Regions from separate parts of the Homo sapiens genome. Here region 1 is linked to region 2. Evidence: promoter capture Hi-C in human tissues and cell types (Jung and others, 2019). All regions are on one chromosome and are shown on one strand. The core of a region is centred on a gene start or on the middle of the fragment in contact, and the rest is flanking DNA. Distances in the headings are between cores, read along the strand shown. Region 1 overlaps CYP7B1 (cytochrome P450 family 7 subfamily B member 1). Region 2 holds the start of BHLHE22 (basic helix-loop-helix family member e22).

Evidence for each region. Contacts are between HindIII fragments. The study calls those that stand out against the background at their distance.
Region 1: a fragment that was not itself captured here is called in contact with the fragment with the promoter of BHLHE22 in region 2 in 1 of the 25 tissues and cell types used here (lymphoblastoid cells).

What each region holds. Positions count from the first base shown.
Region 1 is chr8:64,735,354-64,743,116 of GRCh38, forward strand. The region is part of intron 1 of CYP7B1 (cytochrome P450 family 7 subfamily B member 1); the gene reads right to left. Among named protein-coding and RNA genes, the nearest start is that of CYP7B1, 60 kb to the right of the region's middle. The HindIII fragment of the contact is 4,869 bases long and covers 1-4,074 here.
Region 2 is chr8:64,578,813-64,586,124 of GRCh38, forward strand. BHLHE22 (basic helix-loop-helix family member e22) reads left to right here and starts at 1,553. Exons shown (of 1, transcript NM_152414.5): 1 at 1,553-4,815. The coding sequence starts at 1,979. The coding sequence ends at 3,124. LOC124900252 reads right to left here and starts at 1,200. Exons shown (of 2, transcript XM_047422518.1): 1 at 1-1,200. It overlaps BHLHE22-AS1 (BHLHE22 antisense RNA 1), which reads right to left and starts at 3,080. Exons shown (of 2, transcript NR_152770.1): 1 at 2,906-3,080. RefSeq lists an enhancer at 2,341-2,420. The HindIII fragment of the contact is 20,885 bases long and covers 1-7,312 here.

The DNA of each region.
Region 1 (7,763 bases), core at 390-2,889, 160 kb after region 2:
ATATCTATAAAGGAAATCTCCATTTCTAAGGGTGTCTCCACTCTCTGTACCAGGAAGAGAAGGATGACTAATCACAAGAGAAGGTGTCTATTTATATCTGGATAACAAAACTTACCTTTGTTAGGTGTGCTTTTCCTGGTCACCTTTCCATAACTAACCTTTCCAAAATGTTTCTTTGTTTCAGCTGACGGTGATATTTAAATCTGAACTCAAAACCCCTTCCTTGAGATTTATTTTCATGTATACATGAGGTATACATGTTAATAAGCCTCTATTTGTTTTTATCTTATTAATCTGTCTTTTGTTACGGGGAAGGGGGAGGTCCCAGCAAATAACTCACAAAAAGTAGAGAGAAAATTATAATTCTTCCCCTACAATTCTGGCAATGAGAATGGGATCTGTGGGACATCCCATTTGCTGTGGAGCCTGCAGATGGGATCCTGGGAAAACTGGAAAAGGGTAAGAATTCTCACAGAGGGACTCTAGTGTATCTGTCTCCACAGTGCCTGATCGAGAGAGAAAGGTAAAATTATGTTTCTTCCCCTACAATACTAATATAAGTTGTAAAGCATGCTTAAAAGAAGAAATTTTTAAAGGCATAATTAAAAAATAAAAATAAATTTTTAATGTTTTCACCCATGCCCTAAGTATTATATACTTCCTGGTGAGTAAATGCCTTTTATCTTCTGACAACATCAAACAATAATTATCACTACAGAATCAAGGTATCTAGAAAAATAAATTAATTTATCAGGAAGTCTTTGTGTTTACATCCCTATTATGGAAATAAACACACACCTTGAATGTGTCACTAAAAATATAGATCTTGATTTTGCCATTTCCACGAGAAAAACACCCATATAAATCCCAAATCAGTCACTTCTTCAACTTCTTCTACCAATATTAGATTCAAATCATTGCAATCATCTGACATATGCTTCTCTTCCCTTAGTGCTCCATCCATCTCTTATGGAATGTTCAGATGACACACGAATGGATCAAATGGAAAAAGAAGGCTGGGCAAGAGAAACAAAAAATGCAAGAAAATACAAACAAATATCTTCGCTTTAGTCAAAAACTAACCCAACCTGAATTTTTATTTATTTTATTTTTTTGAGACAGACTTTTGCTCTGTTGCCCAGGCTGGAGTGCAGTGGCATGATCTTGGCTCACTGCAACCTCCGCCTCCTGGATTCAAGCAATTCTCCTGCCTTAGCCTCCCAAGTAGCTGGGACTACAGGTGCCTGCCACCACACCCAGCTAATTTTTGTATTTTTAGTAGAGATGGGGTTTCACCATGTTGGTCAGGCTGGTCTCGAACTCCTGACCTCGTGATCCTCCCGCCTCAGCCTCCCAAAGTGCTGGGATTACAGGTGTGAGCCACCACACCTGGGCTGAATTTTTTTTTAATTCCTGGGAGTTTCAAAAATTTTATTTTCTTGCTCTCTTTTAGTTACTTTTCATTTTACCAAATCCATATCTCAAATCTAATCTAATTCTGTCTACTGTCTATAACAGATATGTTATTTTAAATTTTTACCTAGTAATACTTGAGGCTGAACTGTAAAATCTCTAAGGACAGAGGCATGTCTATCTTTTCTACCCTTATATTCTTGGCACAATACCTGACTCTCAATAAGTATGTTTTAACAAATAAATTAATGAGACAGAAAACATTTTCTAGAGCTCTCTGTGTACAGTGATTATATAGTGAATGAAAAATATCCTAAATCAGTCCATTTTTAAAAATCTATTTTGTGTGTGTGATATTGTCTCACTTTGTCACCCAGGCTAGACAGAGTGCAATGATATGATCATAGCTCACTGCAACCTTGAACTCCTGGACTCAATCAATCCTCTGGTCTCAGCCTCCCGAGTAATTGGAACTACAGGCATGGGCCACCATGCCTGGCTCCATTTAAAGATTATCCCTCAATATAAAGAAAAAATGTACATAATTCTTGTTTTGTTTTTCTTTTTAATGAAAAAAGAGAACAAAAGAAACAGCTACATTGGCAAGTCTGTTAGATTTGGACCACTTTGGCCATGTAAAATCTCAAATAGCAAAACTAAAAGTGATAAAGTGCACTAGCTCAAATCCAGTACTCTCAGCTTGGCATTAAAATCTGTAAAGCATAATCCAGCTTTTTCATCCTGCTAGTTCCCTCATTAAAGAGTTAAATAAATGTTAATGCATGTTCTTTCCATATTTGTATAAGAATCATATTTTTAACTTTTCAAAAATTATGCCTTGTAAGTACCAAGATGCCTGAGAAGTCAATTAAACTGCATTGCCTGAAAATATACCTCCTAGGCTCCTCTTCTCAGTCCATCTTTTCTTGGATCCTGGAATGAAAGGATTCCAAGAGGCAACAGAATTTCAGGTTTGCTGACTAAATTTTTCTATTTTTTTTCTTCTGACTTGTGTTTTTGTTTGTTTGGTTTTTGTTCTTGGCCAATGTTGTTCTTATTCTTGCTTGTGCATAGCCAACAGGTTATTCCCGATTGGTGGCAGCAGTAACTGGGAATTTGGTTTTATGTTCTACTTATTTGGTGATCTCTTTTGTGTAGAGACAGGAATTGCCCTTTTTCAGATGAGAGACAACAGAGATACTGGTTTGTTAGTCTTTTTGCTTTCCTGTCTGTCTGTGCAAATGTATGTCTTACCTTCCATTGAAAAGGAGACTCTCTTTCAGATATGAATTTTTATATTCTAGGTTTATTCTGACCTAGAGCTGAATATGTAAAAGTAAAGCTGTAAGTTCTCTGAGTATCTGCATACCTCTACTGAGAAAAGAATTTACTTCTCATGTGTAATTGTAAAAATACTTTTCTAACTCTGGAGTAATTAAAAATTTATATTGTGAAGTCTCTAGAAATAAAAAAGATTGTGATTGGTTTATAGATACCAATAAGCACTCCATATATTTAGCATTCTTAAAAATCCCAGAAAAGTTTTTTCAAAAACTGAATTTCTAACACTTTAAATGTGCTACTCTATTAAGAAAGAAAAAAAAATCTTCTCAAAGAAACTACTAGCTCAGCAGCATTTTCCTATAAGAAGCTATGTTCACAGAATCGTTGGCAAATCAGATCATTGTTCTCTTTTCAGTGTTTGATCACTGATTTAAAAGAAACTGTTTTCTCCCTAATTTTATCAGGATAGAATATAATACAAGAAAACACACACACACGCACACACACACACACACGCATATAAAACATAATTTGGGTTCCTTTTCTAATCAAGATACTAACTAAACTTCTGGTTTCAGCTCCAATATGTAAAGAGCTGGGAAGTCATCACTTACGTCTGTACAAAAAGAAAAGCTAAATGAACTAAAAATCAACAATTTTTCTTGGAAGCTTCAGAGAACTGAGCTTGCAGGGCAAACTGCCACCCCAAAATCTGGAGAACCAGGCTAATCCAAAGAGTTGACAGCCAAGATCAGTTTACCTGAAACAGAAGCCACTGGAGTCATAAACTGGTAGGAAACACTTAAATGGTAATTTTGACAAATTCCTGGGGGGTGAGTGTGGACTAGTATTAACAGTGAGAAACTCCTGGGAGCCATAGTCTTGGGCTCCCCAACACTTTTATGGGTTTTACCTCCAGGAACCCTGCCATGTTCTCACAGAGAAGAGCTAAAACAGATTCCCTTCTGTCTCTGGCAGGCAGAGGGAAAGAGTATTTGTGAAATATTCAGAGCATTTTCTATAACAAAGGCTTAGTCTCCAGGGGAAAGATTTTACCAGAGCCTTACCCCCGCCCCAGGCACAGGGCATTTCTCCTAGTGGACTTTCTCTAGCTTTTCTGTCTCACCTAAGGGAATTGAGGGAAGCTAAGAAACATTGGTGAAGGTCACAGCCCAGGAATACAGGCCCCCTAAAAGACTGAGATTTAATCATAAGATTATGGAATGCTTTTCCTCTCCCATGCCTTACCACTATATTAGCAGGACTCTGGTATAATGGTAGTTTACTGGGAAGAGTAGAAAACACATAGACTCTATTTAAGGAAGAATTCCTAGCGAAGCTCAAGGACAAAAGTGGAGACAAAAACGAGAACACTAGAGGAAGTTGAGGCCCCTGGCACCTACCACTACATCAAACATTAAACACAGCCTAACACCTAGCAAGACTTCAATAAATTCTCTAACTAAAATGTCTGTTTACCTCAAAGAATGAAGAAAACAGAATAGGCCATGAAAGAATTGTGGGACAATTTCAAAATGTGTAACAGATGTATCATTAGAATACTAGAAGAAAAGAGAGATCAAAATGGAAGAAATATTTGATGTAATAATGCCTTCGAATTTTCCAAATTAATGACAGACATGAAATAACATACACAGAAAATTCAAAGAGCACCAAGTGGTTCTCCTGAATATTCACATCTTGACATATCATATTCAAACTAAAAAACAAATAGATTAGAGAAAATCTTGAAAGAAACCAGAAGAGGATAAGAATTATGGTAGACTTCTTTTCATTCAAGAAAGAAGAGTGGATTGAAATATTTAAAGTGTTGAAAGGAAAAAAATCAACTTAAAATTTGATATCCACCAAAATTATCCTTCAAAACTGAAAGAGATATATAGAGACCTTTTTCAGACAAAAACAGGGAATTCATCACTAGACAACCTACCCTGCAAGAAATGTTAAAAGAACTTCTTTAGGGAGAAGAAAAATGATATAGATTAAACAAAACAAAACATGGATCTATATAGAGAGGAAGAACACTGGAGAAGAAAAACCCGTAAAATAAACATTCCTCTCAAGCTTACAGAGAACACTTAACAAGACAGACCACATCCTGGGCTGTAAGTCACACCTTAACAAATTTAAGAGATTATACAAAGTGTTTTCTCAGACCACAGTCAAATTAAGCTAGAAATCAAAAATTGAATAAAAGCTGAAAAATCTCCACATATTTGCGAATTAAACAACAAATTCCTAAATAAAACATGGGTCAAGGAAGTACATCAGTCAATAATATATATATTTACATATTATGTTTATGATATAACTGCATAAATTATAAAAGAAGATCTATAATCAATAATTTAGCATTCAACTCAAGAAATTATAGAAATGAGCAACTTAAGCATAAAGCAAGCAGAAGAAATGAAATAGTATACCTTATAAAAGACAAATAAAATTACAATTAGGAAAAAAATAGAGAAAATCAACAAAACCAAAGGTGACTGTTTGAAAATATCAATAAATTTGATAAATCTCTAGCCAGGCTAACAAGAAAAGAAAAAAAAAACAGAGAAGATATAACTTGCCAATATTAGAAATGAAAGAGGGGTAATCACTATAGATCCAATGAATGTTAAAAGATTCATATAGGAATATTATGAAAAACTCTATGCCCACAAATTTCACAACTTAGTTGAAACGGGCCAATTCCTTAAAAGACATGAACTACCAAAACTCATAAAAGGAGGAATATATCTTTTGAATAGGCCTATATCTATCAAAAAAAATCCAGTTCCTAACTAATAATCTCCCAAAAAGAAAGCACCAGGACCAGATGATATAAATGGCAAATTTTTTCAATCATTTAAGGACAAAATAATACCAATTCTGTATCATTTCTTCCAGAACACTTCCTAACTCATCGTATGAGGCCAGCATCACTCTAATAGCAAAACCAGATAAAGCCATTACAAGAGAGAGTGACAGACCAATGTGGTTTTATTGAGGATGCAAACAAAATTTAACATAATATTTAATAGTGAAAAACTGGATGCTCTTTCCCTAAGTTAGAGATTAAGGAAAGAATGTCCCCTTCACTACTCCCATACAACACCTTACTGAAAATTCTAGCTAGCTTTATAAAATAAAGAAAAACCAGAAAATAAAATAAAAGGTGTACAGACTGGAAGATACAGTGAAGGAGGAAGAAATAAAATTTTCTTTGCGCATAACATGATTCTTCTATGTGGAAATCACAGAGATTTGAACATTTTTTTTTTTGAGACAGTTTTGCTCTTGTTGCCCAGGTTGGAGTGTAATGGCGCGATCTCGGCTCACTGCAACCTTCACCTCCCGAATTCAAGTGATTCTCCTGCCTCAGCCTCCCGAGTAGCTGGGATTACAGGCATGCACCACCATGCCCAGCTAATTTTGCATTTTTAGTAGAGACGAGGTTTCTCCATGTTGGTCAGGCTGGTCTCGAACTCCTGACCTCAGGTGATCCCCCACCTTGGCCTCCCATAGCGCTGGGATTACAGGCATGAGCCATCGTGCCCAGCCCCCAAAAATTCTTAAACAAATAATCAATTATAGCAAGGTTATAGGATACAAGGTTAATATATAACAGGAAATTACTCTCATACATACCAGCAGTAAAATTGGAGTTTGAATTGAAAAGCACAATACCATTTACAGTAGCACCAAAATGAATGAAATGCTTGTTATAAGCTTAACAAAATGTGTACAGGATATATATGCAGAAAACTACAAAACTCTAATAAAAGAAATTAAAGATATAAATATATGGTAGAGATAAACTATGTTCGTTAATTGGAAGGCTCAATATTGTTAAGATGTCAATTCTTTCCAACATGATCTATAAATTCAACAGAATCTCAATCAAATCCCAGCAAGCTTTTTTGTAGATATCAACAGAGGCTAGTTAGTATAAACTTCCTTAACTTCTTATACTGATTTACTGATCAGATAGATTAACACTGTTCTCATATAAAATCTATGATTATGAAAAATAGAAAATTATGTATCTGTTCAAACAAATGGAATTATAATTCTGACAAATATTTCATAACCACAGAAATTATGATCTGTACTGTCAATTTAAATATAATTTTTAAGATCTTTAGTTAATGTAAATACTGAAAAAATATTACACTGAGTTGATCAATAGATAATCTTTGAATATTTGTATATTTCCAAGTGTAATAGAATGCTAAGCCATTAGTCCCAAACATCGTTTTAATGTATGCATTTTGGCCTCCTATTTTTATATTTGCGGAGTAGTTTTAAGAGAGTAGAAACAGTAGTGGTAGAGAAATGTGTTAAAATTTTGCAAAACTTTCTGTTTTGATGGATTTATTAATAAGAAAAAAAAGACCATGAATGCTTTACTGTAAAATGTTATATTAGAATTTTATATTCTCTGTTAAAATATAATTTTAATTTGTTAGGGCTGCCATAACAAAACACTACACTCTGGGTGGCTTAAACAAGAAAAATTTATTTTCTCGCAGTTCTGGAAGCTAAAAGTCCAAGATCAAGGTGTCCACAGGGTTAGTCCAAGATCAAGGTGTCAACAGGGTTGACTTCTTCCAAGACCTGGCTCCTTGGCTTGTCTTCTCACTGAGTCCTCACCTGACCTTTCCTCCAGAGGCACACATCCCTTGTGCTTCCGTGTGTACCTCCTTTTATTATGACACCAGTCAGATTGGTCTTGGAGAATTTAGTCTATTCTTTATCAGAGGTAGCAAAAAGTTTTTTCCTTTGTAACCCTCCATATGTCCTCAGAATAATTTCCTACTCTTTGCATACTTTATCATGTATTTGATTGTTATAAAAAGTTTTTCATTTCTAAATGCTAGGGTTCATTATAATTTCATTTCCTTCTTCTATGTTTATTTACAAATTTTGTATTGCTACTTTGACTAACAGGCAGCCAAGCCAACGCCAATCTTTCTTCCAAGGTACCTATGATACCCTCTTAATGAAATAATCGAATTTTCACCGACAACTCTAGATTTTGCCTTCCTAAGATCAGAAGT
Region 2 (7,312 bases), core at 303-2,802:
CATCCTTTCCAGGTGAAAATACAGACATTTTTGTGTCGCCCTCACCCTTCCTTTATGAAATAAGGTGCCCAACTGTTCTGATATTACCATTCAAAAACAGGTTCTGTGGCGAACCTCATTTGTGAATCTATTACAGAGATTAATAGATTATTTCTCCTTTTTCAACTAATTCTCAGTGGGGAAATTTAACCATATGGTAAGGAGAGAATTAGAATTTCATCACATTAGAGCAAAATGTAATGAAAAGAGTCCAACACCTGGGGCCAACTCCGAAAGCCACAATTAAAAGGTTTTTAATGAAACCAGAGAAACCAAAAATTGCATAGTCTTCAGTACTTCTGCCATATAAGAAAGAGTTATTGGAAGGTGTTGGGAAATATTGTTTTTACTTATGTCATAAGGATGAAAACCAGCTGCTAAATACCATGTGTACCCAGAGACCGAACTCAGGAGTGAGATGACCGCGTGTACCAGTGCCCATCCGGAGAGGAGCACTTGTTTTTACATTCTCCCTTCCCGAACCCTCCAAGAACAACCGAGGCTGATCCAGATGTCCTTAAATGGCTTCCGGGTAAATAAATATGCATAAATGCCTCACTTCGTGTGGGAGCGGATTTGACTCCTGGTGAAGTTGACTCTTTTGAAGCAATCAGATTTTCATCTTAAGGAAAGTTTGAGAAACCGGTTTGTTTGTTTGTTTTCTTCCTGTTTAGGAAATTGTGTACTTCACAATTACCATCACTGTAACAGTTATTTGGAGACCACTGCAAAATCACTGCCACCCCACCTTAAAAAAAAATGGGCTGCATGATCACTTGCTCTTCATTTTGCTTTTTTCTTTCTTTTTTTCCAATCTGGGTAGGAAATGGGCAGTGGCGGGTGTGGAAACGAGGCAGAGTGTTCGGGGGGACGACTGCTTTGCTCTCTGACCAGCTGAAAACCTAGAGTGAATTTTGGGCAAGCCAGCTGGGACACCACCTTCTCTCGGAAAGTCCCATCCCCAAATCCAGACCAGTCATCCTACGAACAGGGGTGGAGTATAATTCTCGCCCGGAAGGGTAATTTAGCACAAGCTGAGACAGCAGTGGCGAGGGAAGGGCAGTGGGGGGTGGGGTGCGGTGGGTGGGGGCGTCTGCTTTCCACAGGACTCCCAGGCTTCGCCGCCGATCTACAATTTGCTGAAGGAGCAAAGAACATCCTCGGCTCTAAGTAGGGCTTTTAGTGTGCTCATTGATGAGTGAAAGTCGCCACACATGTCAAGCTAAAGGCAGTTGTTGGGTTACTAACAGGACCCAGCGCCTTGCAAACATATGCGCTAAGCTGTGTATACAGATGGCAGGCAGAATAATGGAGCAGGCGCCTTTTATAAAGCTCTAGCTGCTGCCTGTCTTCAGACCTGGGAAATGAAACTATTCAGACTTGCGGCCAGATAGCGCCTGCGATTGTTTGTTACCGTTTTAATCCTATTAATTAAAACGTTAACCTGATTGGGTAGAAAGCGCTGTCCCAACAGGCGAGTCTTCTTCATAATAACCTACTCAGAGATAATGATGTAAAAGACTCCCCCGTCTGTGGCGGCGGCTGTTTGATGGGTCCGGAAATCTCTTGAAGGTGAATCCAAGCAAGATAAACGGTGCGGAGAGGAGGCGCGGGGCTGGGCTCAGAGCGGCGGCGGCGGCGGCTCCACTCCCTCCGCGCCCACCCTCCCACCATGCGGGGCCGCGGCCCATGGTGAGCCCCAGCAGCCAGCACCATCGGCTGGAGACGAAGAAGAAGAAGAAGAGGAGGCGGCGAGCGCGGGGGAAGGCGAAAAAGAAAAAGAAAGAAGGGGAGAGGGCTCCCGGCAGCACCAGGACCGACGCGCGCACCAGCTCCGGAGCCCAGCTCGCGCGCGTCTGTGGGGCCGCCTGACTCCGGGGCCGAGGCGGCGGCGGCGGCAGCGGGCGCGGCGGCCCGGGCTGCGCGCCGGCGCGGGACCATGGAGCGCGGGATGCACCTCGGTGCAGCGGCCGCCGGCGAGGACGACCTCTTCCTGCACAAGAGCCTGAGCGCCTCCACCTCCAAGCGCTTGGAAGCGGCTTTCCGCTCCACGCCCCCGGGCATGGACCTGTCCCTGGCGCCGCCGCCTCGGGAACGCCCGGCGTCCTCCTCCTCGTCGCCCCTGGGCTGCTTCGAGCCGGCTGACCCCGAGGGGGCAGGGCTGCTGTTGCCGCCGCCTGGAGGAGGCGGCGGCGGCAGCGCGGGAAGTGGCGGCGGCGGCGGCGGCGGGGTGGGTGTCCCCGGGCTGCTAGTAGGTTCAGCCGGCGTTGGGGGCGACCCTAGCCTAAGCAGCCTGCCGGCCGGGGCCGCCCTTTGCCTCAAGTACGGCGAAAGCGCGAGCCGGGGCTCGGTGGCCGAGAGCAGCGGCGGCGAGCAGAGCCCCGACGACGACAGCGACGGTCGCTGCGAGCTCGTGCTGCGGGCCGGAGTAGCCGACCCGCGGGCCTCCCCGGGAGCGGGAGGTGGTGGCGCGAAGGCAGCCGAGGGCTGCTCCAATGCCCACCTCCACGGCGGCGCCAGCGTCCCCCCGGGGGGCCTGGGCGGCGGCGGCGGCGGGGGTAGCAGCAGCGGTAGCAGTGGCGGCGGTGGCGGTAGCGGTAGCGGCAGCGGCGGCAGCAGCAGCAGCAGCAGCAGCAGCAGCAAGAAATCCAAAGAGCAAAAGGCGCTGCGGCTTAACATCAATGCCCGAGAGCGCCGGCGGATGCACGACCTGAACGACGCGCTGGACGAGCTGCGCGCGGTGATCCCCTACGCGCACAGCCCCTCGGTGCGAAAGCTCTCCAAGATCGCCACGCTGCTGCTCGCCAAGAACTACATCCTCATGCAGGCGCAGGCCCTGGAGGAGATGCGGCGCCTAGTCGCCTACCTCAACCAGGGCCAGGCCATCTCGGCTGCCTCCCTGCCCAGCTCGGCGGCTGCAGCGGCAGCAGCTGCTGCCCTGCACCCGGCGCTCGGCGCCTACGAGCAGGCAGCCGGCTACCCGTTCAGCGCCGGACTGCCCCCGGCTGCCTCCTGCCCGGAGAAGTGCGCCCTGTTTAACAGCGTCTCCTCCAGCCTCTGCAAACAGTGCACGGAGAAGCCTTAAACACACCCCCGAAAAACACAAGACCGACCCAAAATCTAGAGGAAAGCGAAAAGCTGCTCCCCACCCCCTTTATTTTGGTCCTCTCGTAGTTGTGAAACACTTGCAGAGCAAACAAAGCAGAGGCAAGAACTGAGGAGAAGTATCAGAGACAAACGGGACTTTTAGCCTTGACATCCCCAGAATCTCGGTCTTTGGGGTGGGGAGGGAGGGAGGAGGGAGGTGGAGTTGGGATGGAGTATGGATGTCTTTTTTTTCTCAGAAAAGTGGCAACTTTGGTGGCAGCCTAGACCGCGAGGAAGTGGAATCTTCCTTAAAGGTGAAACATAAGTTGAGAAGTAGTGCTTGGTTATTAAGCCTGGAGAGTGTTTGAATGGCAAAATACTAATCCTACTAATAATTGTGGATTTGGCTAGTGCTGAGGGGGAGAGGAGGGGTTAGGGGTTGGGTAGCATGAGAGATGGAATATTCATTCAGACAAATCAGAAAGGGCACTTGAAAATAAATTTTGATTCTGAGCCAGGAGAAAAACTTGAAATGTTGACTTAAGTGAGGGGGAAATAAAACCCAGAGAGAGAGAGAGAGCGAGAGAGAGAGACATGTTACTATGAAAGACTTGTATTTTTTATTGTCTCTGAACTTTAATCCTGTGAAAATGCTCAAAGTTTTGGCGAGAGTGATATAAAAAAACTGACTGTGGCTGAAAGAATTGCATTTAAAAATATTTATGTGCACCTTGTTACTTTCTACTCTGCAATGATGTATTAACAATTCATGGTATTTATTTGTTATTCTTCAATGACCCTTCCACATCAACAGTATTTATCATGTGTTAAAGTCATGGGTCTTATGTGCAGATTTTTTTAATGCCTCTAAAATTGTTTTATAGATTACTTATGCTGTGTGCCAAGTGTTTAAAGGTTTATTTGCCAACAAGTATGAAGAGAAATATTGATGTATCTGAGCTGCTTAGGTTTATGAAAGGTCACCTGGATATTTTCAGTTGCATCATCCCTGTATTTAAATTGAGCTTTAATAAATTGCTTCAGTCCAAAAATTACAGGAAAGGTGTATTCTTAATTGATGAATGAATTGATCTCTTTTTTGAAAGGGGACTCCTTTACATTCCAAAAGGGAAAAACATCACAGCAATAGTTGCTATACGTAAGAACATGCTAAGCAAATATTTTTCCAGGCTGTGCTGTGCATTTTTAAAAGGTCTAATTTAATTGCTTTTAATATATATGTACATATATGTTATTTTAACTGTGGAGAATTATTTAAGTTAAAAGACTGGTTTGATTTGCCTATGGTGTGAAATCCTTTGTTATTTTTCTAAAAAAATAAAATTTAAAAAGAAAGAAAACTAAGGAAGAACAAGAAGCTATTTACCCAAAGTGAGCTTTCAGTTTTAGTTTTGCATGGCTGTTTGACTGCCTTTCCGCCCTATGAAAATCAAGAAAATCTTTTTTAAAAATGGAGTCCTGCTATTTTCCACTCCTTGCAGATAATACAAATTCAGTTTGTCAGGTTGGATGGTGAGTTGGGAGCTGTGATGGATCTGTTGGCGGGTTTTGGATGTGTAAAGAATGATATATATATTAAATAGGTCAATCAGACTATGACAGCTATGTACGACCATTTGTATGTGTATCTATGTCAGAAAGAATCTTTATTAAAATATTTTGATCAAACATTTTATTATGCTGTGCTTTGTGGAAGAAGCAATCACCTCTCTTCTGTGTTACTCTTTGCTTGAAAGGTAACAAAAAAGAAAGGAGTTTCAGAGAAGGTGGAACTAAAGTTTTTGCAGGGATGCACAATTAGAAGTAGCCCTAATTTACTTGTTTACTTGTTACAAGGAGGAGAGATGAATGGGGTCAGTGGTGAAACCCAGAAGAGATTCCAAGTTTCTGGCTACTGGCATGAACTTTGAAGGCCACATTCTCCCTGGAAATCTTTTTCCACTTGTATGGCACTGTTAACCATGCCAGGGCCCGTCAAAGAGGGTAAAGTTTCTTAAGAGTTTGTCATCAAAATTTCTACCTCCAAATGCGTGAAGGGCAAGGAAAAAAAATGGACTTGGATTCTCTGAGCACTGATTTCACTGTGACTTTCTACTTTTTTGTGATAAAAAGAATTAACTTGAATCATATAAGCATACACAATGCCCATAGAGATGATCAGAATTTTACTAGTGTTGCTTGATGATGAGATTTTTAGGTTCCGTGTTTGGATTTAGGCTTTGATTCTGTTAAAGAATGACTGTCGAGACTTGTATTTTGACCTTTATATTGCCCTCAAATATAGAAGGTGTGATTTTTTACTGTGGCACAGGTTGCAGAGATAGTAGTGGTGGTGGTGCAGAAGTTAGATGTTTCCTCTGTACCCAGTATGCTAAATGCATTTTTTTCTATACAGCCTCTGCTCATAAAGATATCCCTAAATGCCATCAAACTTAGTGGGGGGTGAGGAAGGATATTTTCTACTCCACTTGCCATCAAAAAAGATTAATCAGAACTTGTAACTTTTCAGAAAACATAACTGCAAAGGGCCTTGAAGCTGGAGCCCTCCCAGACTGGGAGTGAGGGCAGAAGGAGGGAGGAGACCAGGGCAGCCCCCAGGCAGGAGCCGACCTGTCTCTCAGCATTTACCAGACAAAGCCTGGGTGCGTCTAATTATGATTATTAAAACAATTTCCATGACGATGTCTAATATTATGTTAATTTGAAAACAACTGTGTATGAAAACTGTCGACTATAATACCTAAATTCATTTAATGAAACACATCGTTAAGGCAATTAAACCTCCTGGATGTGATTAAGAAACATAATTACGACACTGTTCTGCGCCATAATTGGGTGTCTTTAATCAAGGGGTAAAGTGATCAGCAACACAGCCATTAGTTTGTATTGTTCTGGCCCTGCTGTCCATCATTCTGATTAGGAATTAGCCACAGCCACCACCAGTCAGATTTTTTTTTTTCCTTTTGCATATTAACATTGTAGGGGACACATTTGCTGCAAGATTTAATGCTTAATATTTCTCATTATTAGAAGGCCTTCTTGAAATACTTCCTTTGCAACCTTTGTACTGTTCAACTATTATTAAAAATTGTACAGAAGAACACATCTTGAACTTTAGGGAAAAAATAAAGAAATGAGAATCCTCCTCTCTTTAACCACTCAGCTTTCAATCTTAGTCCTGAAGGAGACTTGGATGGGGGTGGGGATAGGAAGATATTGAGAATAAATTCAAATGTCACATGAATAGGCATAATTATTTAGTGTATTAGGCTTATTAACATTTATTTTCATTTTGATAATTTTAGACAAATCAACCCTCTTTCCAAACCTAGGAATTGGCCAGCCTGTGGTTTTAGCAATTAACATGGGACATCTGAAAGAAACAGGAGAGGAGTTTTCTGTGGTTTAGTTAGGTGATCCTCCCTGCCCTAACTCCAACCTTTCTAAAGGGTTTTCAGCAGCAGCTTTAAGAAAAGGAAGCCAGTGATTGGAGGGACAACACTTTCCACTCCTGATAAAGCCCTAGAGCTACTTTCTTTCTGGGGTCTGAGCCCTGAGTTTTGGCCTAGTCTGAAGAGTTAGCCCACACACCATTGACCCCAGCTGTCTGTCCAGCATGGAGCGCACAGGTCGGAAATGGGGGACTGAGCACCAGGGGAATCAGTGTGGTCTTGCAAAAGTCTCCTTGGGTTAGAGCAGACAGCCTGGTTCCTAAGACTGCAGCATGTGCCAGAGTGCAAGGGTATCTTGGCCACCCCTGAGCTTGCTCTGGCATCCACCACGCCTTGGGGTGCTTCTCTCAGGCACACCCATCCCGCCAGTCCGATCTCTCTGCTGGTGTTCCTTACAGAGCTGAGAGTGGACAGATGAGGCCAAGCAAAAACTGAGTCCCACTGGCTTTTTATTCTCACTTAGGGTCCCGTCGCCAGCTTGACACTGGGGACCAACAGAAGGGTTAGCTTTGCGTGTACGACTGCAGGACCAGCAAATGATCATCTTCGATAGAGCTCTCTAGTTACCCGTGCTTCTCCCTCCCTATGGTATGTGTTTGTGTGTGTGTGTGTGCGTGTGTGTGCGTGTGTGTGCGCGCGCGCGCGCACCCGCACGCAGTCTGCAATGCCCTCACCAGTCCCCGCAGCTGGGCAACCCCTCCAAGACCCTGTGT